Regions from separate parts of the Homo sapiens genome. Here regions 1, 2 and 4 are each linked to region 3. Evidence: promoter capture Hi-C in 16 types of primary human blood cells and fetal thymus (Javierre and others, 2016). All regions are on one chromosome and are shown on one strand. The core of a region is centred on a gene start or on the middle of the fragment in contact, and the rest is flanking DNA. Distances in the headings are between cores, read along the strand shown. Region 1 overlaps ZNF155 (zinc finger protein 155). Region 2 overlaps ZNF383 (zinc finger protein 383). Region 3 holds the start of ZNF667 (zinc finger protein 667). Region 4 holds the start of LOC124904726 (a long non-coding RNA gene).

What was found. Contacts are between HindIII fragments. The CHiCAGO score rates a contact against its expected background, and 5 or more counts as called.
Region 1: a fragment that was not itself captured here is called in contact with the fragment with the promoter of ZNF667 in region 3 in 1 of 17 cell types (total B cells); the score reaches 7.6 in total B cells.
Region 2: a contact is called between a fragment that was not itself captured here and the fragment with the promoter of ZNF667 in region 3, in 2 of 17 cell types (total B cells and naive B cells). The highest score is 14.7, in total B cells.
Region 4: a fragment that was not itself captured here is called in contact with the fragment with the promoter of ZNF667 in region 3 in 1 of 17 cell types (total B cells); the score reaches 5.6 in total B cells.

What each region holds. Positions count from the first base shown.
Region 1 is chr19:43,987,475-43,993,969 of GRCh38, forward strand. ZNF155 (zinc finger protein 155) reads left to right here. Exons shown (of 5, transcript NM_198089.3): 2 at 985-1,084; 3 at 4,074-4,200; 4 at 4,368-4,460. The coding sequence starts at 1,070. Among named protein-coding and RNA genes, the nearest start is that of ZNF155, 6.5 kb to the left of the region's middle. The HindIII fragment of the contact is 3,880 bases long and covers 804-4,683 here.
Region 2 is chr19:37,221,723-37,227,478 of GRCh38, forward strand. It overlaps ZNF383 (zinc finger protein 383), which reads left to right. Exons shown (of 6, transcript NM_001387601.1): 2 at 3,096-3,217. Among named protein-coding and RNA genes, the nearest start is that of ZNF383, 6.4 kb to the left of the region's middle. The HindIII fragment of the contact is 239 bases long and covers 1,238-1,476 here.
Region 3 is chr19:56,474,275-56,480,386 of GRCh38, forward strand. It overlaps ZNF667 (zinc finger protein 667), which reads right to left and starts at 3,071. Exons shown (of 7, transcript NM_001321356.2): 1 at 2,998-3,071. ZNF667-AS1 (ZNF667 antisense RNA 1) reads left to right here and starts at 3,600. Exons shown (of 2, transcript NR_036521.1): 1 at 3,600-4,107. The HindIII fragment of the contact is 7,484 bases long and covers 1-5,445 here.
Region 4 is chr19:44,230,640-44,236,388 of GRCh38, forward strand. It overlaps ZNF227 (zinc finger protein 227), which reads left to right. Exons shown (of 6, transcript NM_182490.3): 6 at 4,063-5,749. LOC124904726 (a long non-coding RNA gene) reads right to left here and starts at 4,205. Exons shown (of 3, transcript XR_007067266.1): 1 at 4,116-4,205; 2 at 173-265. The HindIII fragment of the contact is 6,247 bases long and covers 1-5,391 here.

The DNA.
Region 1 (6,495 bases), core at 1,494-3,993, about 12 Mb before region 3:
TATTGCTTCTGGGCCTTATGCATTGTTGGTGCGGATACTGCCAAAGTGATAAGGTTTCCTTCCTATTGTAACATAACAGGGCCAAACGATGTTGGTTTGGCCCTTCATTGGTGATCTCAACTTCATTCATTTGGCCAAGATGATGTCTTTCAGATTTGTCCACTATCAAATTACCTTTTTAAAAGAAATAGTCAAGTTTCTTCTGGGGAGATACATTATTAATGGGCATTCACTCTAAAAATGAACTGCCAGTTCTCCCCCATTTATTTATTAGTTTCTTCAACTATAAATATTCTATCAGTATGGACTCAGTCTTGTTAAGTTAAATGACATGTAAACTAACAATTATTTTTCCCAATTCTATTGAGGTATTTTTTACGTATCATAGCATTCACCAATTTCAGGTGTACAATTCAGTGATCTTCAGGAATTTCACATAGTGGTTTTGCCATCATCATGATTCAGTTTAGACCATTTTCATCCCCTAACTGGACTTCTTGTGCCCACTTACAGTTAAAACTCATTTTCAGGCCGGGCACAGTGGCTCATGCCTGTAATCTCAGCACTTTGGGAGGCCAAGGTGGGAGGTATAGCTTGAGCTCAGGAGTTTGAGACCAGCTTGGACAACATAGCAAGACCCCATCTCTTAAAAAATAAAAACTCATTCTCACCTCAAATCTGGAGCAACCACTAACTTATATTCTCTCTATATACCATTATCTATTCTGGATGGTTCATATAAATGGGATCGTATAATCCATGGGTTTTGTGATTGGCTTCTTTCATTTAGCATGATGTTTCCAAGCTTTGGAAACATCCTTTAAATTTCCAAATAAGATTCCATGGTATGGATACACCACCATTTGCCTATCCATTTACCCAGAGGAAGGCATCTTGGTTGTGTGCAGTTTGGGTTTATTATGAATAATGCTGCTGTGATCATTCATGGGCTAATTCACAACACACATCTCTCTTTTTCTGCAGACTGTGGCACGTTTCAGGCAGGATTCCTCCTTCATTCAAACTGCATCACCCAGGAGTCTGCAAATTCCCCAAAGTAGGAGGAAAAATGACCACATTCAAGGTGAGGGGGGCGTGCCTCTCTCGCTGTTAAAATTCCATGTCACTACTCATATTTTCATGTGTTTTTCTCTGTCATGAGAAGACTCAAGGGGAAAACAGGCATTTGGGGACCTGTTTGTGCCAGGTGCTTCCTTTATCTCTTTTGTGTTGACTGCATTTGGTTTTTGGTTTTGCTTTGTTTTGTTTTGTTACCATTATTTATTTTATGGAGTATGAAAATTAGTAGAAATGAACAGTGCTCCCACTTCCTTACCTCCCCTCTCTCAAATTATCTGTTTTTATCTTCTCTGCTGTTCGTCATGTACATTTGTAACTGTATTTGTATTGATGATATACATCTAATTGTAAACTGTGCTCTTTTTATATGTTATATAATCTTCCATTTTTATGGTTACATCATATTCCTATTACATTGATGTATCTTTTTATTTATAACTACCTCACGCTCATAGACATATTTTAAGCAACACTGCAGTGACAGCTTTCCTATACATAACCTTTTCCCACAAAATTAATTTTGAAAACCATATGCCATTTTAGCTCAATTTTGAAAGGGTACTTTTGATATGTACCACATTGGCTGTTTTGCAGATAGAATATTTTAACTAGGCACAGAACAAAAGGATGTAACTGCTGCACCACACAAATATTGTTGGAGTTTTCACACTGGAAGAGCTAGATTCTGTGTTCTCCTTGTCTCAGTCATACTTTGCATGTGCTTTATTTACTGGTCTCTTCTTATTCATTTATGTAGTAAGCAGTTTAACCAAAGCAGTAGAAAGCCTTCATTTAAAATGTCCAGTGATACTAAGTTTTGCCAATCACTTGTGTTCTGTTACTACATTTACTCCTCAGCGCAGCGGAATGAGGTTCCTGGTCTCTTCTTCTTCTTGAACAGGTGAAATATGAGAAACCTTCTCAGGTGTACACAGGCAACCAAAGGTCAGGAGTGTTAGCCATTCGGCTCAGGTGAAAAAGAGAAACAAGGAGAGAGACAGAATTCTCCATTGAGCAACCTGTGCCCTGTGATGTGGATGTCTGGAGTGCCCTGTGGAGTGATGGTGTCCCTAGTGGTGCTGCTCCTCCCTGTCCCTACTTGGTGTGACTTCTTGTCACATGTCACTATGACATGGCATCTACTCCAGGCACTGAAGTATACTGATTACCATAGTTGTTATAGAAAATCTTTAAATCCCTTTTGGCAAAAGATGCCTCACACAATGTTACCAGAAGAAATAATGACCTGGGGCAGAAATGTTAGCCACGTGGATACCTAAAGAAAATAAAATTCAAAATCAAAACCTTGAGCACAGAATAAAGGAAAAACTCCAAACAGATAGGAACAAAGGACACTAAAAGGCCAATGTAAAAGGAGAAGTAGAGATGGCCAATAACCTTGAAAAGTGATGGTTTTCATTTGTAATCAAATAAGTGAGAATAATAGAATGATTTGTTCCCCAAATCAGATTACCAAGACTGTGGGAATACTTATAACCTGCTCTTGGTCATGATAAAGAGAAGCAAAGTACTTGTATTCTGTTCAAAGATTATGGAGGTAGGTAAAAAACTGGGAAGAAAGCATGCAGTTATATGATCACAGTTCTAAATGTGCTTATTTTTTGATGTTTTAATTTTCATTTGAAATTATTATTTTAAACAATGAGAGAGTAAGATGTTCTTACATCTTGCTACATCATTACTTAATGATGCTCTTTACAGGATTGATAATGGAAAATATGTAAAATTAAATATTCTTTACTGTAGCTAAAAGTAGGTCATCAGATCTCTGGAATACTATGCAGCCATGAAATAGATAATGCTAGTAACAACAGTAAAAAAGATTCCAGCTAATGTTCATTAAACAGTGGCACAGATGTTTCCAAATGCTATGTATTTCCTTGTTTAATCCTTTAAAATACTGTGCCAAATAAGGACTATTATTTAGAGAGGAAAGTAAATCCTGTAGGCAAACATGTCTAAGGCCACACAGTTAGGAAGGGGCAGACCCTTAGGATGTACAGTGATGCATTCTGGCTTCTGATCAGGACACTGAAGGCTGCAATTAACATTTGTGGTTTGTACCTTGAGAGTAGAGGACACACTACATAACTGTCCCACTCAGCTGTCCACACTGGTACTGTGGAGTAGGTTCACTGTGCACTGATTACCAACTTGTGTGAGTCCTGTGAGACAGAACACGATCTCACTCAACAGATTACGTGAAGCAGATTTGTTATCTACAAATTGGCAGCAAGGGAGCACAGGAGTGTAGGATACACTGTGAGGTGGCCATCCAAGGCTGAAGAAAACGTCCTGGGGTGGGTAGAATCTTGACCCCATTTCCACCAGAGCAGAGGTACCCCAGAAGGCAGCCCACCCGAGGTTATATACCTCCGGGGCAATACGACTTACTGGGCACTTTCTCCCTAACTCAAGACATTATCTTCCCTAGGAAGGACAGGAACATTGCATTGCTAGCATGTTCTATGTTTATTCTTCAAAACTATACACAAGAAAGAATGATTCAAGGCCACCCTGAAAATTACCCACAGTTACCTAAAACTTGTTAGTTTAGCAAATACTAAAGAAAAGCAATAGCATCCAGGGTTTGAGTACGAGAGAGGAGGACCCAACAAAGTTGGGACTGAATTGTTTAATGTTGCTGGGGCAGTTGGCAAGATGTGTCGAACCTATATATGGGTAGCTCAGGATGCAGCATGTAGAGTCCTAGAGGGTTACATACAAGTAGACTCAATGAGTGCACAGAATAAATGTATGAGACTTCATCATTGCACTTCTGGTGGAGTTCAGGAAAATCAGTATGTGTCATTGTCAGGATATAGACAGAATGAGTGGGAAATCTCTAAGTTGACCTACATCCCTCAATACTGAGAACAACTTTCCACTCATCCCCTTCCCCTGCTCAATGCCGCTTCTCCCCCAGTAGTCCTTGGTCATAAGATTGAAGTTATGTCTTCTTGATGTTGTAGGAGGCAGTGACCTTCAAGGATGTGGCTGTGGTCTTCACTGAGGAGGAGCTGGGGCTGCTGGACCCTGCCCAGAGGAAGCTGTACCGAGATGTGATGCTGGAGAACTTCAGGAACCTGCTCTCAGTGGGTGAGCACGGGCATCTTTTGTGTCTGAACATCAGGCCTCAGGAGTGGTTTTGTACCTTAGAGTGTTCAAGTTTGAGTGTGCATTGGGAACCTAAATAGCCAGTAAATTTTGCCTAAATATTACCCAGAATGTGTTGGGATTCAGCACGTGACCTTACCTATTCACAGGGCATCAACCGTTCCACCAAGATACTTGCCACTTCCTAAGGGAAGAAAAGTTTTGGATGATGGGGACAGCAACCCAAAGAGAAGGGAATTCAGGTAAGAACTAAGCATCTGTGTGTCCTTGTACCTGACTCTCCCACCTGTTGTGCTTCTGTCCATGCCCATTTGCATTGCTCTGATGTAAATGACCACATCTCCTTCCTGGATTATTACAACTGCCTTCCAGTTGGTGGCCCTGTTCCCACCCTAATATCTGTTCTCATGGCAGCCAAAGCGATCCTTAGGAAATGGAAGTCAGATTGTCATTCCTCTCCTCAAAAGCTTTTATAACTTCTTATTTTTATTGATGTTACAACCTCTTTAAGTGCATCTTAGAGACCTATGTGGTCTGCTCTTCATCCCATTCTGCCTCTCTGACTACGTGTGTCCTTTCCATCTTTCTCCATCATTTCCAGCCACATTTCTTCCCTGCTGTTTCTGTCCTGCCAAGGACACTGTATTGCCTGTTGTGGTAACCAATGACCACAAACTTAGTGGACTAAACAAAAATATTTATTATCTCTCTGTTCTTTAGGCCTGAAGTTTGATACATTTCACTGGGCAAAAATCAAAGCGTCCCTAGGGCTTTGTTTCTGCCTGAATGTTCTTGGAGGGAAAACTTCACTTTGGTTTACCAGTGTCTAGGCACTGTCCACACTCCCTGGCTCTTGTTTCACGTCTCCATCTTCGAAGGCAGCTACTTTGCATCTCTGACCATTCTTCCATAATCCCATTCCCTCTGCCACTCTTCCTAAGCCTCTGCCTTCTACCTTTCAGGTCCCTTGTGATTGCATTGGTCACTCCTGCATAAACCAGGATGATCTTCCTACCTTCTGCTTAGGTGACTAGTGACCGTTATGGCGTCTGCCGTTTTAATCCCCCTTGCTGTGTAACATAATAGGAAGGCTGACTGTATATTGCAGAACAGTTTTTTTGGCCTGCTGATGGCTGCTTATCCAATTCTGACTTTCTTAGGTTCCTTGACATGATTGGTTTCAGGTGTGTACAATTGACCCACGTCCCGTGGAAACTTCTAAGCATTGTTTTTATGACCACACTGAGTAAGATGCCTTCCCTGAGACTTATCCTGGAGCTTTCCATAGGGAGCATATTTATATCTGGGAAGAAATTCTTTTTGAATGAGGATTTCCAGCTACATTTCCTTTGAAAGATTTACCCATCTGCAGCCCATTTGCCTTTTCCAAAGTCTATATACACTTCACTGGCCCCAGCTTCCTCCTTCGTACTAGAAGGGGGAAGAATGAGGATGAGGGGACACAAGTCATGTAGCTGAACATTTACTCTATTTCTGGTCCTCTTTCTTCATAAATGTGTCTATTTCTGCATCTTTATGTCATACAAGTTTTGTTTTCAAAAACATTAAAGGATATAGATTTTACACAATTTTTTCTTGATTTTTATAGATTTAGTGCTGTATTTTGAACTGGTGAACTTTATGACCTGTTAGGAATTGGGAAACTGCCCTCTAAAACTAGAAACATCCTGAAGATTCTCCTTTCTCCTTAAAGATTTCTTATTAATTTAATTTATTTTTGAGATGCAGTTTCGCTCGTCACCCAGCCTGGAGTGCAATGGTGCAATCTCGGCTCACAGCGACCTCCGCCTCCCAGGTTCAAGTGATTCTCCTGCCTCACCCTCATAAGTAGCTGGAATTACAGGTGCCCACCACCACACCCAGCTAATTTTTGTATTTTTAGTAGAGATGGGGTTTCACCACATTGGCCAGGCTGGTCTCGAACTCCTGACCTCAGGTGATCCACCCGCCTCGGCCTCCCAAAGTGCTGGGATTACAAATGTGAGCCACCATGCCCAGCCAAGACCTCTTATTTATAAGTGACAGTGTATTAAATATATCTACGTACCACTGTATACCAATAGGTACACACTTACCTATAAATCCTTTCCAAGATTCAACCTCTGCAACTTAACTTTCCATTGGAAGAATTTACTTAATTCAGGACTTGGTATTATCCTGACAAAGTTTTGAATGTTTTGCAAGCATGAGCCATAGTAAGAAGCACATATTTCAATATAACCCGGACAAACATTTTTCATGCCTGTAGATGTGTAT
Region 2 (5,756 bases), core at 107-2,606, about 19 Mb before region 3:
CAGATCATGAGGTCAGGAGATCAAGACCATCTGGCTACGGTGAAACCCCGTCTCTACTTAAAAAAAAAAAAAAAATACAAAAAATTAGCCGGGCATGGTGGCGGCCGCCTATAGTCCCAGCTACTTGGGAAGCTGAGGCGGGAGAATTGTGTGAACCCGGGAGGTGGAGCTTGCAATGAGCCAAGATTGTGCCACCGCACTCCAGCCTGGCCGACAGAGCGAGACTCTGTCTCAAAAAAAAAAAAAAAAAAGAAAAAGCATATTCCTTTGACCAGATCTCAAATCTGATAAGGAAATAAAACATAACTGGCATTACAGAAGCCCAAGTCTTGTCCAGTTCACTCACTACCCACTTCTCCTAAAGAGAACTAATAGTTTGTCTTCTATAGCCATAGACTAATTTTACCTATACTTGAATTTTGCTTGGCTTCTTTTTTTTTCACTTTTTTTTTCCTACTGTCAGTTTCACTTGGAGATGATGCTTGGCTTCTTTTGCTCAATATTGTATTTCGTATGTAATATGAATGTATTCTGTAATAATATGTAGTATAAATATATAAAATTCATCCATGTTGCTGCACGTTAGTTATAGGTGATATAATGAATATAGTGAACACATTATTATTGCTGTTTAAAATTCTGTTGTATGAATATAACACTTTTTTTTGTTTTTGAGACAGTTTCGCTCTTGTTGCCCAAGGTGGAGTACAATGGCACCATCTCTGCTCACCACAACCTCCACCTCCTGGGTTCAAGCGATTCTCCTGCCTCAGCCTCTCAAGTAGCTGAGATTACAGGCGCACGCCACCACACCCAGCTAATTTTTTGTATTTTTAATACAAACGGGGTTTCACCATGTTAGCCAGGCTGGTCTCAAACTCCTGACCTCAGGTGATCCGCCCGCCTCGGCCTCCCAAAGTGGTGGGATTACAGGTGTGAGCCACCGTGCCCGGCCGAATATAACACATTTTACTTATCCATTCCATTACTGATTGGCATTTGATTTCATATTGAGGCTGTTATGAAAAACGCTGCCGGGAACATTCTTTTACATGTCTTTTGGTGCACATATGAATGCATTTGTCTTGGGTGTATTTCTAGGAGTGAAATTGCTGGGTCATGGTTTCTGTATATGTTCAGCTCTAATAGATACTGACAGTTTTCTGAAATAGTGGTATCAATCTATATTCCAAACTGCAGTGTAGACTTTATGACAAGAATAGATTTTACAACAAGAAGCTTTACTAGAGATAAAGAGGAATAGTTTATAATAAAAAGATCAATTCACCAGTAAGATATAACAGTTCTGAATTTATATGCCTTCATAAAATGGCTTCAAATATATTTGACATAACTAAAAGAAGTAGTAGATAAATCACAATCTTAGTGGGGAGTTTTTAGCACTCTTCTCAATAGCTGACAGAACAAGTGACAAACCCAATAAAGCTATATGGTATTTGAACAGTGTGATTGACAAGCTTGACCTGATTGATATGTATAGAACAGTGTACCTTACAACTACATAATATACTTGCTTTTCAAATGCATATGAGACATTTATCCAAATTGATCATATGCTGGGCCACAAAGGGAGTCTCAATAAATTTCAAAGGAATGAAATAATACTGTAACTTTCCTGACCACAGTAGGTTAAGCTAGAAGTCAATAACAAGAAGATAATTGGAAATATCCCAGCCAGGTGTGGTGACTCATGCCTGTAATCCCAGCACTTTAGGAAACCGAGGCAGGAGGATTGCTTGAACCCAGAAGTTTTAGGCCACCCTGGGCAATATAGCAAGACCCCATTTCTAAATTTAAAAAAACAAAAATTAAAGAAATATCCCAATGTTTGGGATTTAAGCAATGTATTTATAAATAACTGGTGACTCAAAGAATAAATTGTGATAGATATTTAAAATATTTTAAACTGAGTGATAATGAAAAATAACATACCAAAATTATGTTTCTAAAGCTGAATATGAGGAAAATATATAGCTGTAAATGCATATGTTAGAAAAAAATGAATGTTGGCCGGGCGCAGTGGCTCACACCTGTAATCCCAGCACTTTGGGAGGCCCAGGCTGGTGGATCACGAGGTCAGGAGTTCAAGACTAGCCTGGCCAAGATGGTGAAACCCCATCTCTACTAAAAATACAAAAAAAAGTAGCCAGGTATGGTGGCGGGCACCTGTAATCTCAGCTACTCAGGAGGCTGAGGCAGAGAGTTGCTTGAACCTGGGAGGCAGAGGTTGCAGTGAGCCAAGATCGCGCCACTGCACTCCAGCCTGGGCGGCAGAGTGAGGCTCCATCTCAGAAAAAAAAAAGAAAAAAATTAATGTTGAAAAATTAATGATCTATGTATTCATCTCAAGAAGCTAAGGAAAAGTCTAGAAAGTTAAACCCCCAAAATTAAAATCTAGGAAATAATAAGAATAAAAGCCCAAATATAAAATTTTTAGTTTATTTGGTATTGCATATATTTAAGGTGTACGTGTTTTGCTGTACATAACGAACATATATTGAAATACAAAATGAATGTACAGTGAAGAAAACTAACAAAGGCAAAAGCTTATTTTTGGGAATTAATAAAATTAATAAATCTCTAACAAAACTTAAAATATGAAGTAACACAAAAATTGCCAATATCTGATAAGAGGAAAATTAAACCAACCACAGACTTAACTTAAAGGCTGAGGGCTCAATTAATTAATTAGTGTTTGGTACCTGGGACTTGGTTCCACAAAATAAGCTCATTGGAATCTGAGCCACTGATCATTATACTGGGTCCCTTTTTATACTTCATTGAACATGTAGATTTTTCTGGTTTTTTGTTTTTTTCTTTTTTTGAGAGACGGGCCTCTCACTCTGTCACCCAGGCTGGAGTGCAGTGGTGCAGTCACAGCTCACTGCAAACTCGACCTTCCAGGCTCAGGTGATTGTCCCATCACAGCCTCCCGGGTAGCTGGGACTACAGACAATGTGCCACCATGCCCAGCTAGCTTTTTTTTTTTTTTCAATGATTTTGTTTTCATTTTAATTGTGGTATAAAAGACAATGTAAAATTTACCATCTTAATCTTTGTTTTTTTTTTTTTAGACGGAGTCTCACTCTGTTGCCCAAGCTGGAGTGCAGTGGCATGATCTCAGCTCACTGCAGCCTCTGCTTTCCGGGTTCAAGCGATTCTCTTGCCTCAGCCTCCTGAGTAGCTGGGATTACAGGTGGGTGCCACCATGCCTGGCTAATTTTTGTGTTTTTAGTAGAGACGGGGTTTCACCATATTGGTGAGGCTGGTCTTGAACTCTTGACCTCGTGATCACCTGCCTTGGCCTCCCAAAGTGGTGGGATTACAGGCATGAGCCACTACGCCTGGCCATCTTAATAATTTTTTTTTTGAGATGAGTTTTGATCTTGTTGCCCAGGCTGAAGTGCAATGGTGCGATCTTGGCTCACTGCAACCTCTGCCTCCCAGGTTCAAGTGATCTCCTGCCTCAGCCTCCCGAGTAGCTGGGAATACAGGCATGTGCCACCAAGCCCAGGTAATTTTGTATTTTTAGTAGAGACAGGGTTTCTCCATGTTGGTCAGGCTGGTCCCGAACTCCCGACCTCAGGTGATCCACCTGCCTTGGCCTCCCAAAGTGCTGGGATTACAGGTGTGAACCACCACACCAAGCTAATCATTTTTAAATGTACATTCCAGTGTTAAGTATATTCATATTGTACAATAGATCTTTAGAACTTTTTCATCTTGCAAACTGAATTATAACTATTAAGCTACAATGTCCCATTTCCCTCTTTCCCCAGCCCCTGGCAGCCACTGTTCTACTTTCTGTTTCTATGAGTTTGACTACCTTAGATACCTCTGTAAGTGGAATCATTTATAATAGTATTTGTCTTTTTGTGACTGGCTTCTTTCCAGTCACAATACCCCAAGATAGAAAGGGGATTCACTGCAGTTAGTCAGTAGACACACACAAACCCAAGTAGTAACGGGATACAATATAATAATGAATTAGTTGAATGCTTTGATAAATTAGTTTGACATGTTACTTTTTATTATCATTCAGTTTAAATTTTTTTTTTTTTTTTGAGAAGGAGTCTCGCTCTTGTCACCAGGCTGGAGTGCAATGGTGCGATCTCAGGTCACTGCAACCTCCGCCTCCTGGGTTCAAGCGATTCCCCTGTCTCAGCCTCCCAAGTAGCTGGGACTACAGGCGCGCACCACCATGTCTAACTAACTTTTTTTTTTTTTTTTGTATTTTAGTAGAGACGGGGTTTCACCATGTTGCCCAGGATGGTCTCGATCTCCTGACCTCGTAAAATATTTTTAACTTCCATTGCAATTTATTCTTTGAACCACCAGTTATTTATAAATACATTGCTTGAATCCCTGACTTAGCATAATGTCCTCAGGGTTCAAACATGTAGCATGTGACAGGACTTACTTTTTTGTAGTTGTTTATTTGTTTTAATATGCTTTATTTTTTAGGGTACTTTTAGGTTCACAGTAAAATTGAGCAGAAGGTACAGAGATTTCCCATACACGTCTTTCCCCCACACGTATGGTCTCCCCCATCATCAACATCCTCCACCAGAGTGGTACATTTATTACAACTAATGAACCCACATGGACACTCAGAGTCTATAGTTTACATTAGGGTTCACTCCTGGTGTTACACATCCAGGGGTTTGGACAAATGTGTAATGACATTTATCTCCATTATGATGTCATCCACATTAATTCCATTGCTCTAAAAGGCCTCTGTGCCCTGACTGATCCTCCCTCCCTGTCAACTCCTAATCTTTTTATTGTCTCCATAGTTTTGCCTTTTCCAGAATGTTGTAATCATACAGTATGTAGTCTTTTTGAATTGGCTTCTTTCACTTAGCAATGTGCATTTAAGTTTCCTAAGCTGTTGATCATGAGACTGAGTCCCTTTTTATACTTCAACAGACATGTAAGTTTCTATTTTTAATATAGATTTTAATTTTTGTAAGTTCATTTATTGGACAAGATGTGTGCTTTAAATTTTTGCATGGTGAAATCTGCAGTTTCACTATAAGATATATTGACCTGGGGTAGTCGTATTTTTAAAATTTATTTATTTATTCTTTTTTTGAGATGTAGTCTTGCTCTGTTGCCAGGCTAGAATGCAGTGGTACGATCTCAGCTCACTGCAACCTCCGCCTCCTGGTCCTCCTGCCTCAGCCTCCCAAGTAGCTGCGACTACAGGCGTGCGTCACCATGCCCAGCTAATTTTTGTATTTTTAGTAAAGACAGAATTTCACCATGTTGGCCAGGATGGTCTTGATCTGTTGACCTCGTGATCTGCCCGCCTCGGCCTCCCAAAGTGCTGGGATTACAGGCATGAGCCACTGCACCCAGCCAGGCTTTTTTTTTTTTTTTTTTTTTGAGACAGAGCTTCGCTCTTGTTGCCCAGGCTGGAGTGCAATGGCGCAATCTCGGCTCACCGCAACCTCCGCCTCCCAGGTTCAAACGATTATCCTGCCTCAGCCTCCCTAGTAGCTGGGATTACAGGCATGTACCACCACGCCCGGCTAATTTTGTATTTTTAGTAGAGACGGGGTTTCTCTGTGTTGGTCGGGCTGGTCTTGAACTCCCGACCTCGGGTGATCAGCCTGCCTCGGCCTCCCAAAGTGCTGGGATTACAGGCATGAGCCACCGCGCCCAGCCATCCGGCCAGGCATTTTTTAAAAAACTTAAATCTCCCTTGTTAATATCACTATATAATTATTAGG
Region 3 (6,112 bases), core at 1,821-4,320:
ACTGAAAACCAGCCATTAAATGCACTGCCACAGCCTCATTGCCTCCTTTGGGCCAGTCAGCTTTTGCTGTACCAGCTGTCAAATATTCAAAAATCACTCCTGGCCTGAACCTGCCAGCCCCAGAGGCCAGGGACATACGTAGGCAATTTCTCCAAAGACGTCAGCACAGCTGTCACAGGAAGAACACAGGCTATGCATATGCATGTCTAGCCTGCCATTTCCCCACTTTGCCCGGGAACACATTAGGTTACCTCACTTGCAGGATGGGGCTAGGAATACCCCTACTGCAGGGAAGTGCAGCTGTGAGGACTGTTTTTGATAAGATAGCCAAGCAGAGGTCACTTGCATCCTCCCCCTGACTCCTCCAAATCAATTTATCTCATTCCCAGAGGCCCCAAAGGAGCCTGAGCTGCAGGCACTCAGAGCTGTAGCTCTTAACCCTGTGCGTACATTAGTCTCTTGGGAGCTTTCTAATAAATAGTCACAGCTGATGGCAGTTCACTATGCCAGACCAATTAAATCAGAATCTCTGGGGATTGAGTCTGACCCGCCCTTTTTTTTCTTTTTTTAAATAAAGCATTCCAAGGTGAGAGTAACATTGAAGGCATCGTTTAGAATAACGTTCGAGTCTCAGAGTCTCAAGGACAGGGCTAGAGATCTGACCTCTTTCTGTTGAAGTCCAGACCTCAGTGAAGAGAAAAGTCTTTGGTTAAGATCAAAGTCAAACTCTTAGATTCCCCAATCAAGTGATACCAAAGGGTCACTGCTGGTGGTCCTTCCTGGCTCTGGAGTTGACCAAAATGCCCATGGGAGACCTGGATGTTGACTCCAAAAAGAACACCTGCCAAACACCCTGTAATCCCTTTACCCTGCTTTACTTTTCAAAGTACCTATCAGCACCTATTATAGACTTTATTTTTGTCTCTCCTACTAAATGCAAGTTCCAGCTGAGTAAAAACCTTGCCTGTTTTGTTGAGAGACTAGCACAGTGCCCAATCCATGGTAGGCACTCACTGGCTGAATGAATGAATGCATCTCGGAGCTTACCCGGGCTGCAGGCCGTTTCTTCTCATCTCAGAACACTATCCTTTTATCATCTCTCCGTGCCCCGCCTTCCCCAGCTCCCTTACTCTTCTCCCTGTCATCATGCCTTCGGTCTGTCCATGCGCTTGCATCACGGTCCTCTCAATCAGAGTGATTTTGCCCCTGCAGGGGACATCTGACAGTGTCTGGAGACATTTTTTTTTCGCTTGTCACAACCCAGAGGGAGGCGCGGTGTGCTACTGGCCTGGTAAATAGAGCCCAGGGTTGCTGCACAACATCCTATAATACATAGAATAGCAGCCCCTCCCACCTCCCAACAAAAAACTATCTGGCCCCAAATGTCACAGTGCCAAGGCTGTGAAACACTGGTCTGGACAGAAACATTTCCAGACCCATGTGTTATATGGAAACATCCCTTAGTCCCTGACACTTCAAAGTTCTGTTCTTGACCCCATGGGCTCCCTAGGGACATCTCCATCAGGAAGATCCTTTGTTCCTGACCCCACCTCCTCTACCCTAATGCTGCCCTCCCAGGACCCTGCCTACACAATTCTGAACCTAAGCCCTGATCTAGACGTCCAAGTTATTTTACCTCTGGACCTGCAACCCTTACTCTGGGGCTCATCCTTTTGCATTTCTACCTATGGATTTTATTCTCCAGGTGTGGGACGCCTGCGGTTATTATGCTAATAATAAAACGATGATCATTGATGTGGCACTTCCTTGTGCCAAGTTCTACTTATGCTCACCATAAACCTGAGGTTGGTTCTGTTATTACTACTGTTTTACAAGTGAACCGAGGAGTGGTGGACTTAAGTAAGCTCTCTCAGTCACACAGCCAGCCAGTGGTGAAACCAGGAGTCAACACCAGACAGCGGGGCGCCACAGTCCATGCTCTTATTTTTCCAAGCTACCTTGGTAGGAAGGGGACACAACCATACTTAGCGTCAGTGGAGGGCTCTGTCCTCCACTCAAATGTACACATGCAGAAAACTGACGACGCAGGTGGTTGGCGGGGGCAGCGCACCACTGCTCAACTGGAGATGGTCAGATGCCCTGGTATGTGGACAAAGATAGCCCAGTCCGAAGCTCAGAGATGCAAAGTCCTCCAGTATTCACCACTACCTCTGCCTCTGTATAGGGTCAAAGAAAAACGACCACCAGCACCATAACCAACACCTAAACACGGTGATTAGTATGTGACAAGCTCTGTGCAGGGTGTTTCAGCTACGTCATCCCATTTAATCTTCCCAATAACACCCAGGCAGGTGCTATTAATATGCTATTTTACCAAGGAGGAAAGTCATGCACAATTAAACAGTTCCACAGATTTCCAGGGCAGCCCATCACATCTTAGAGCTGCTAAGAATTCTTCCCCTGTGGGCCTCCATTTCCATGGTTACAGTGAGATATACACCAGAAAGGCACAGTCACACACTCATAACCGCAAAGCCACTGACGCTAAGTGGCAGACAGACGCCCAGGCAAGTCACACAGTAACCCAAGGCTACAATAAACGCCCACATCAGCCTGACACTGACACACGCACACACTCCAGAAACACAAATCTTCACAGTCAGCGTCACACACCCACTCCCGGCTTCCCAATGGCTCCATTGTTTCCTTCGCGTGGGTCACGCAGCGATACACATCCGCGGTCCCGACATAGCTCCCTCACACACAGGCACACACGGCTCGCCTCACACGCGGCGCCAACTTCACACTTGGGCGCACAAGCCCCGAGAACCACAGCAGCGAAGGGCGCAAACCCCACGCCGTGGCGGGCCGAGAACCCACGCAGGCGCGAGCCCACCGCCCACGCAAGCACCCGCGCAGACGCCCACGCCATCGTGGATGCGCAAACCCACGCGCGCCTTGGCAGGAACGTCCACGCAGTGGCGGGCGCGCCGCCCACGCCCTCAGACACACCCACACTCTCGCCAGCCCCCTTACCTCGGTCTTCCCGGGCTCAGACCCCGGCGGCGACCACCGAGACAGCCGAGCAGGGACTCAGCGCCTGCGCACTCCCCTCCGGGACCCCGGGACCGCGCGCTGCACCCCCCTTCACACACGCACCACGCATGCGGGCGCGTGGCCCCGCCCCCAAACAAGGCCACGCGGCGTGCGCTCACCCGCCTCTCGGGGACAGTACCACCAGCCCCGGCCTGAGGCCCCGACCCCTCAGCGCCACACGCACAAGCGCGTTCGCACGATTGGTGCAGGCGGACGCGCGAGGTCCCGCGCCTGCGCACACCCCCGAGGCTGGCACGCACACCGGTCTCCTAGGGGACTGGCGCCTGGCCCTGCTTTTCATCCTCTCAGGAGATCACGTGTGGACACTGAGGCCCTTCCTCGAGCTCTTTAACCAAACCCAACCTCCCCAATTCGCCGCCTTCCCCGCTCCCACAACCACACGTTCCCGTGTGAGGGCTTATTGCCTCCAGCCAGCCAGCGTCCTTCGCCCCCACATTCACGAGGTTTGGAGCCGGCCTCACCCGCGGAGGCGGACACCGCCCACCCGCGCGTGCGCACTACGCAGTCATCCTGCGACCTCCAGAATCCACCGGGGTGCAGCGAGGCTGTGGAAAGTCCCACCCAGAACGTGAGGTGAAGAAGGCTTGGGCTGCGCTGGTTCTGCTCTGTCCGGGTCGGAGATGAACTGACCCGGGAGAGCAGCGGAGGGATGTTTCTTTTGGCCAACAGTGGGGACTCACCTGCACGTTTTGCGAAGAGGCCCACAGTCCTTTGCGTGGCGCTCGGACTACATTTCCCAACGGCCCCTGCACGCCCTGGGGGCTGTTCCATGCGGTGTTGCGCCTGCGTAGCCGGCGGGCTGGCAGTGAGACTGACTGCGTCGGGGTTGAGACTGGGTGGATGAGGCTCACCCCGGCGGGGAGAAGGGACGAGGAGGGGCGGACAGCGGAAGGTCCGGGAGTGTCCGCCATAAAGTCGTTTGAGGTGACCGTTGCGTAATTGTGAGTCTGTGAGAGAAGATGTGAAGTATGGCCTCGTCCCGGTCATCTGGGCGTGCGGGTCCCGGGTTTTGATCGCGCGTTTGTGTAGGTGAGACCCACATTGTGTTACCCTGAACATGTGTGAGGACGAACCTTTGTGTTTTCTTATACGTGTGTCTCTGAGGCGATTTTTGTGGTTTTGTACGTGGCGGGGGGCACTGATTTTGAATATGTGTGTATGTTCTGGACATTTGTTTAGCTTCTGCATCCACTTCTGCGGAAGGGCAGAGTTGAGTAGGTGGGAACAGGTACTGTGTGGCCCCACAAAGCCTGAACTATTTACTGTTGACTCTAGAGCCCAGTTTTTGCGGTGTGTACGTCTCTGTGGGGAACCACACATTTTGAATATGTATACTTGTGTATATTTACGTCTATTCTATGACTGCTTTTGCACAATGGCAGGGTTCAGTACTTGCAGCAGAGATCTTGTGGCCCATAAAGCCTAAAATACTATCCGACTAAGGTTTCGAGCCGTAGCCAGTTTTTGTGGATGAGTGTTGTGTGTGTGTGGGAAGCCAGTGATTGATTGATTGATTGATTGATTTGGGACGGAGTCTCGCTCTGTCGCCCAGGCTGGAGTGCAGTGGCGCGATCTCGGCTCACTGCAACCTCCGCCTCCAGGTTCAAGCCATTCTTCTGCCTCATCCTCCCTAGTAGCTGGGACTACAGGCGCCCGCCACCACGCCCGGCTAAGTTTTTTGTATTTTTAGTAGATTCGGGGTTTCACCATGTGGGCTCTTGACCTCGTGATCCGCCCGCCTCGGCCTCCCAAAGTGCTGGGATTACAGGCGTGAGCCACCGCGACCGGCCAAGGAAAGCCAGTGTTTTTGACTCTGTGTGTGTGTACCCGCCTGTGTGTTGAGACCCAGTTTTTGTAGTTGCATAGGTGGGTATATGTGTGAGGGGAACCCAGGGCCTGTGATTTCTTTCTTCCCAGGTGACTCTGAGCAAGTTTTGGGGACTAGGTAGTAGGGAGAATGTGTGAGGAACTAGTTTTGGTTTCCCATTTCTGTGATTAGGTAGTAGCAATAATAAAAATAAAAGCTAACAGATACTACTATTAGGACTTTTACCATTACCTCTGTGACTAGCAGCTAGCACTTACTGATTGTTGTCCCTGGTCAAAAGTGAATTTTTCCATTTAAGGTTTTCTTTAATCCTGTAAGCCGTTCTCTGAGTTGTTCCTTGGAGCAAGTTTCTTTCTAGACTGGAGATTGTTCTAAATACCTGGTAATACTAGAATAAGGGGTGTGGTCAAGAGATCCAAGAAATCTTAGGATAAATCTGTCACTTGGCAGTTTCTTTGTTTTCTTTAAACCACCTCCCAAGAAAGTATGTCATCCTTTCTGCTGTTTTAGGGGCATGTTAGTGCGAAAATCTGGGAAAAAGCTTTATGCCTCAGACTGTCCTAGTTCAGAGAAACCAGAGTGTGTGGGTCGGATGTCTTGGCTCCTGATCAGGCTCTGTTGTGCCCATTCTCCGAATAAAGCAACTATCTCCCAAGACACCCATGAGTTTTCTAAGACAGTTTGTCCCAGAGCCCAGGTCCAGAATCTAGTCCTGGTCTTGGATTTGGTCAGACCTTCCCTCACTCTCACCTCAGGACTCCCCACCACTTCCCCCCCTGCCCCAGGAACCCATGGGAATTACAGGCATAAATTAAATACCTGATCCTATGACAGCTCCAGAGTATCTGGAATCTTTTTTTTTTTTTTTTGAGACAGTGTCTTGCTCTGTCGCCCAGGCTGGAGTGCAGTGGCGTGATCTCTGCTCACTGCAAGCTCCGCCTCCTGGGTTCAGGCCATTCTTCTGCCTCAGCCTCCCGAGTAGCTGGGACTGCGAGTGTCCATCACCACACCCAGCTAATTTTTTTGTACTTTTAGTAGACACGGGGTTTCACCTTGTTAGCCATGATGGTTTCACTCTCCTGACTTCGTGATCTGCCCGCTTCAGCCTCCCAAAGTGCTGGGATTACAGGCGTGAGCCACCACGCCCAGCCCAAGATTTAATTTGTTAAAAAAAAAAAAAAAAAAAAAAAAAGTAGGGTAAAGACG
Region 4 (5,749 bases), core at 1,018-3,517, about 12 Mb before region 3:
AGAGAGGCCTTCTATGTTTAAATTTACCATTTTAATTTAAAATACCATCTTCCTTCCATTTTCCATCCCCTTACCTTTCCTTTCTCTCCTTCTTTGCTTTCTCTTGAATTTGCATATTCCTCAGGTCTATTGACTTAAAAATTAAAAGTAAGCTGGGTATGGTGGTACATACCTGTAATCCTGGCTACATGGGAGGCTGAAGTGAGAGGATCACTTGAGCTGAAGAGTTCCAGACCAACCTGGGCAACATAGTGAGACTCCATCTCTACAAAAAAAAAAAAAAAAAAATATATATATATATATATATATATATATCTTAGCCAGGCATGTTAGCATACATCTGTAGTCCCAGCTACTTGGGAGGAGCATCAAGTGAGCCCAGGAATTTGAGACCAACCTGGACAACATAGTGAGACCTTGTCTCCCACACACACAAAATTAAAAGTAAAAATTAGATATTCCTAGATGATGTGAATTTTTTTTTTTTTTGAGACCGAGTCTTGCTTGCTCTGTCACCTAGGCTGGAAAGCAGTGGTGCCATCTTGGCTCACTGCAACCTCTGCCTCCCGGGTTCAAGTGATTGTCCTGCCTCAGCCTCCGAAGTTACTGGGATTACAGGTGACCACCACCATGCCCAACTAATTTTTGTATTTTTAATAGAGATGGGGTTTCACCATGTTGGCCAGGCTGGTATTGAAGTTCTGATCTTACCCACTTTGGCCTCCCAAAAGTGTCACCCAGGCTGGAGTGCAGTGGCATGATCTTGGCTCACTGCAACCTTCGCCTCCTGGGTTCAAGCAATTCTGCTTTAGCCTCCCGAGTAGCTGGGATTACAGGCGCCTGCCACCACACCCGGCTAATTTTTGTATTTTTAGTAGAGATGGGGTTTCACCATGTTGGCCAGGCTGGTCTCGAACTCCTGAGATCGTGGTCCACCTGTCTCAGCCTCCCAAAATGCTGGGATTACAGGCATGAACCACCATGCTCAGCCAAAGGGTTTGTTTTTATAAGAATTCTTAACAAAAAACTTACAGAGAATGGAGACAAGTAGATATCACATCCCTTTTACTCAGAGTTAGCTCATAGATTGAGAGCACACCAGTGTGATTAATTATTTGGGAACACTGTCTTCTAGTGAATGTCTAACATAATTAGTAATTTCTAAGACATTTTTGGACATGTAAATATTCAAACCTACTAACCTTAGAAGATAAAAGCTATTCACAGTTGTTGGAATGTAGAACTTCACTATCAAAAATTATCAGTGGCAATATGGCAGGTATTATAGTTCATCAGTTTCCCTGTATCAATTTCAAGTTGGCTTTACTCATTGGTGAAAACTGCCTTATCCATACAGCTGACTTCCCACTTTCCCATTTCCCCTTCCCTCTAATACCAAAACAGTTATATAACCTACATACAGTAGTTCTTTAGCAGTTTTGAATTGGACATTTCCAGAAGTCCAGAGGCACTGACATACCTGTGGAGTTGAGGTGAGTCCTGATTAGGCAAAGAAAATTCCAGAATTTCTAAATTGGGTTTCCAGTGTAATTTGCATCCACATGTATTAATCTTAGCTTCTAGCACCAGCAATGTGAGAAGCACTTTACATGTTGCAGTGACTTCTGACACCAAACACCTGAAGTTAGGCCGGACTTTCAGAGTAAGGGCATAGTTTTCCACAAGACTGCTCTCTATATCGCTCTAAGTTTATATATCGCTCTAAGTTTAGGGATTCCCAGATAATTTTGCTCACCTCTGACCAAGTAGCTACAAATTTGGGAGTTCCCGTGATAATTTGTTAGAATGACTGACAGAACTCGGGAAGGTGCTGGACTTACAGTTTTATTATAGCAAAAAAGATACATGTTGGAAGCAGCAAAAGGGAGAGATATATAGGGTGAAATCTGGGTGGCTTCCCTCTTTCTTCCCTTTTGTAAGGACTTGTGATTACTTTAGGCTCATTGGATAATCTAGGATAATCTCCTTAAGAGCTTTCATTTAATCATATCTATAAATTGCTTGTTTTTTTGTTTTTTTTTTTTGTAGACGGAGTCATGCTCCGTCGTCCAGGCTAAAGTGCAGTGGTGCAATCTTGGCTCACTGCAACCTCTGCCTTCTGGGATCAAGCGATTCTCATATCTCAGCTTCCCTAGTAGCTTACAGGTGCCTGCCACCATGCCAGGCTAATTGTTTTTTTAGTTTTTTAGCGGAGACGGGGTTTCACCATGTTGTGGGCCAGGCTGGTCTCGAACTCCTGACCTCAAGTGATCCACCTGCCTCGGCCTCACAAAGTGCTGGGATTACAGGTGTGAGCCACTGTGCCTGGCCTGTAAATTCCTTTTTGCCATGTACATTAACTATTCACAGGTTTGAGAGTTCAGGCTGTGGACATCTCTTGGGGGTGGGGTGTCATTACTCAGCCTGCCATATCCAGAAATGTGTAGACACCTGTTGCTATTTTTTTTTCAGTTTGTATTATTAGAATGTAACATTTCATTTAGGCAAATTATTTGATTAGGACTTGGTAAACCACCCCCTAAACATTTTAAGCCAAGGTCTTTCATACGTTTCTAACCATGACCCTCAACATAAGTATAATTTTACATCTTGACTAAGCATAAATATGTTTATATTTATGTGTATATTTACCAACTAAAACAAGTATTTCCTATAGTAGTACTCTTATTGCTTTTAATACACTAAGCATGTCTTATTCTGTTTTTTGTTTTTTTGTCAGTCACAAGTTACATACTTGGTTTCATGGTGCACTAATGCATTGCAACAATTTGAAAACCCTTGTTAACAGTGGGGATAAAGCAATGAAGAAAACAAAATGCGTGTTTTTTTCATGACCGTTACATTCTACTGGGTCTAAAGAGACAAAGGAAAGTATATAGTAAATCAAATAATAAGTACTGTGGGGAAAAGTCAAGCAGGGTAATTGAACTGGAAAGAGTCGAAGGTGTATGGCAGGCCGGGCGTGGTGGTTCAGCCTGTAATCCCAGCACTCTGGGAGGCCGAGGTGGGCAGATTACTTGAGGTCGGGAGTTCGAGACCAGCCTGGCCAACATGGCAAAACCCCATCTCTACTAAAAATACAAAAATTGGCTGAGTGTAGTGGCATGCGCCAGTAATCCCCGCTACCCGGGAGGCTGAGGAGGAGAATCTCTTGAACCCAGGAGGTGGAGGTTGCAGTGAGCTGAAATCACACCACTGCACTCCAGCCTGGGCGACAGAGCGAGACGCTGTTTTTTAAAAAAAAAATGGCGTATGGTGGTACCGTTGATTTATTTTTACATCGTGTGTTATGGAAGGCATCACAGATAAAGTAACATGTAACATGTGAGCAGAGACCTGAAGGGAGCGAGAGAACAAGCAAGGCTCCCTGCTTTCTGGGAGGAAGTTTCCAAGCTGAACATACCTCTCCCTCTCTTCGTCTTCTGTGTTGGCTTTGAGAGTTTGCACTATGCTCTATTTCCTCTCCGAAGTTCTCTCCTAGTTATACAAGATTAGCTTTCCCTTTTCCACTTGTCCAGAGACCTGGATTTCTACCAGGTTTTAGAACAATCATATTATTCCAACTGCCTTCCCAAATCTGTTGGAGAATAATTTCTATCAGGATCTAAAATAGTATTTCATGCCTACAGTCTGAACTTTTCTTAACCTAACTAGTTATTAGAATCCCGCTTGTCATAAGCCTACTGAGGAAGAGGTGAGTAGGCTGTTCATTGATGTTATTGTAGGTTGGAATATGGATTTTCTTTTTGTTGCCCTGCAGCTACCTGATTTTAGCTTTTAGCTCTCATATTAAACTGTTAGACTTACGGTTCTACATGGATCATGTTTATACTTAGTGAATGGGAGCCTGTTGACCCCACTCTTCGTTTACACCTGTATGAAAAACATGTCAAAAGAATACACGATGCTGTAAGGACAAGGTCACCTTTCGCCTGGTTTATCAAGGCTTTCTCCCATGGCCTAAGTGTGAAATTCTGATATTTCTGAAGAAAGCATTTACTGCCCTCATCTCTAAATATTGCCTTTTTTCTTTTTTAATAGGCAGCAAGCATCAAAATAAGATGGAAACACTCCAAAAATTTGCATTAAAATACCTTTCAAATCAAGAGCTGTCCTGCTGGCAAATCTGGAAACAGGTTGCAAGTGAATTAACCAGGTGTCTTCAGGGGAAGAGTTCCCAGTTATTACAAGGTGACTCTATTCAGGTTTCTGAAAATGAGAACAATATAATGAACCCTAAAGGAGATAGCTCTATTTATATTGAAAATCAAGAGTTTCCATTTTGGAGAACCCAGCATTCTTGCGGGAATACATATCTGAGTGAGTCACAGATTCAGAGTAGAGGTAAGCAAATTGATGTGAAAAATAACCTGCAAATACATGAAGACTTCATGAAGAAATCACCATTTCATGAGCATATTAAAACTGACACAGAACCAAAACCCTGCAAAGGTAATGAATATGGCAAAATCATTAGTGATGGCTCCAATCAGAAATTACCCTTAGGAGAGAAACCCCATCCATGTGGTGAGTGTGGAAGGGGCTTCAGTTATAGCCCAAGGCTTCCCCTTCATCCGAATGTTCATACAGGAGAAAAATGCTTCAGTCAAAGCTCACATCTGCGAACTCATCAGAGAATTCACCCAGGAGAGAAACTCAATAGATGTCATGAATCTGGTGATTGCTTCAATAAGAGCTCTTTTCATTCTTATCAATCTAATCATACAGGAGAGAAGTCTTATAGATGCGACAGTTGCGGCAAGGGATTCAGTAGCAGCACGGGTCTTATCATTCATTACAGAACTCATACTGGAGAGAAACCCTATAAATGCGAGGAATGTGGTAAATGCTTTAGTCAAAGTTCAAATTTTCAGTGCCATCAGAGAGTCCACACTGAAGAAAAACCATACAAATGCGAAGAGTGTGGTAAGGGCTTCGGTTGGAGTGTTAATCTCCGTGTTCACCAGAGGGTCCACAGGGGTGAGAAGCCCTATAAATGTGAGGAATGTGGTAAGGGCTTCACTCAGGCTGCACATTTTCACATCCATCAGAGAGTCCACACTGGAGAGAAACCCTACAAGTGTGATGTGTGTGGTAAGGGCTTCAGCCACAATTCACCATTAATATGCCATCGGAGAGTCCACACAGGAGAGAAGCCATACAAGTGTGAGGCGTGTGGGAAAGGCTTTACCCGTAATACAGATCTGCATATTCATTTCAGAGTTCACACGGGAGAGAAACCCTATAAATGTAAGGAGTGTGGTAAGGGCTTCAGTCAGGCTTCAAATCTTCAAGTCCATCAGAATGTCCACACTGGGGAGAAACGATTCAAGTGTGAAACGTGTGGGAAGGGCTTCAGTCAGTCCTCAAAGCTTCAAACCCATCAGCGAGTCCACACTGGAGAGAAACCATATAGATGTGATGTGTGTGGTAAGGACTTCAGTTATAGTTCAAATCTTAAACTACACCAAGTAATTCACACTGGAGAAAAACCATATAAATGTGAGGAATGTGGGAAGGGCTTCAGTTGGAGATCAAATCTTCATGCACATCAAAGAGTTCACTCAGGAGAAAAACCCTATAAATGTGAGCAGTGTGATAAGAGCTTCAGTCAGGCCATAGATTTTCGGGTACATCAGAGAGTCCATACTGGAGAGAAGCCATACAAATGTGGTGTCTGTGGTAAGGGCTTCAGTCAGTCCTCTGGTCTTCAATCCCATCAGAGAGT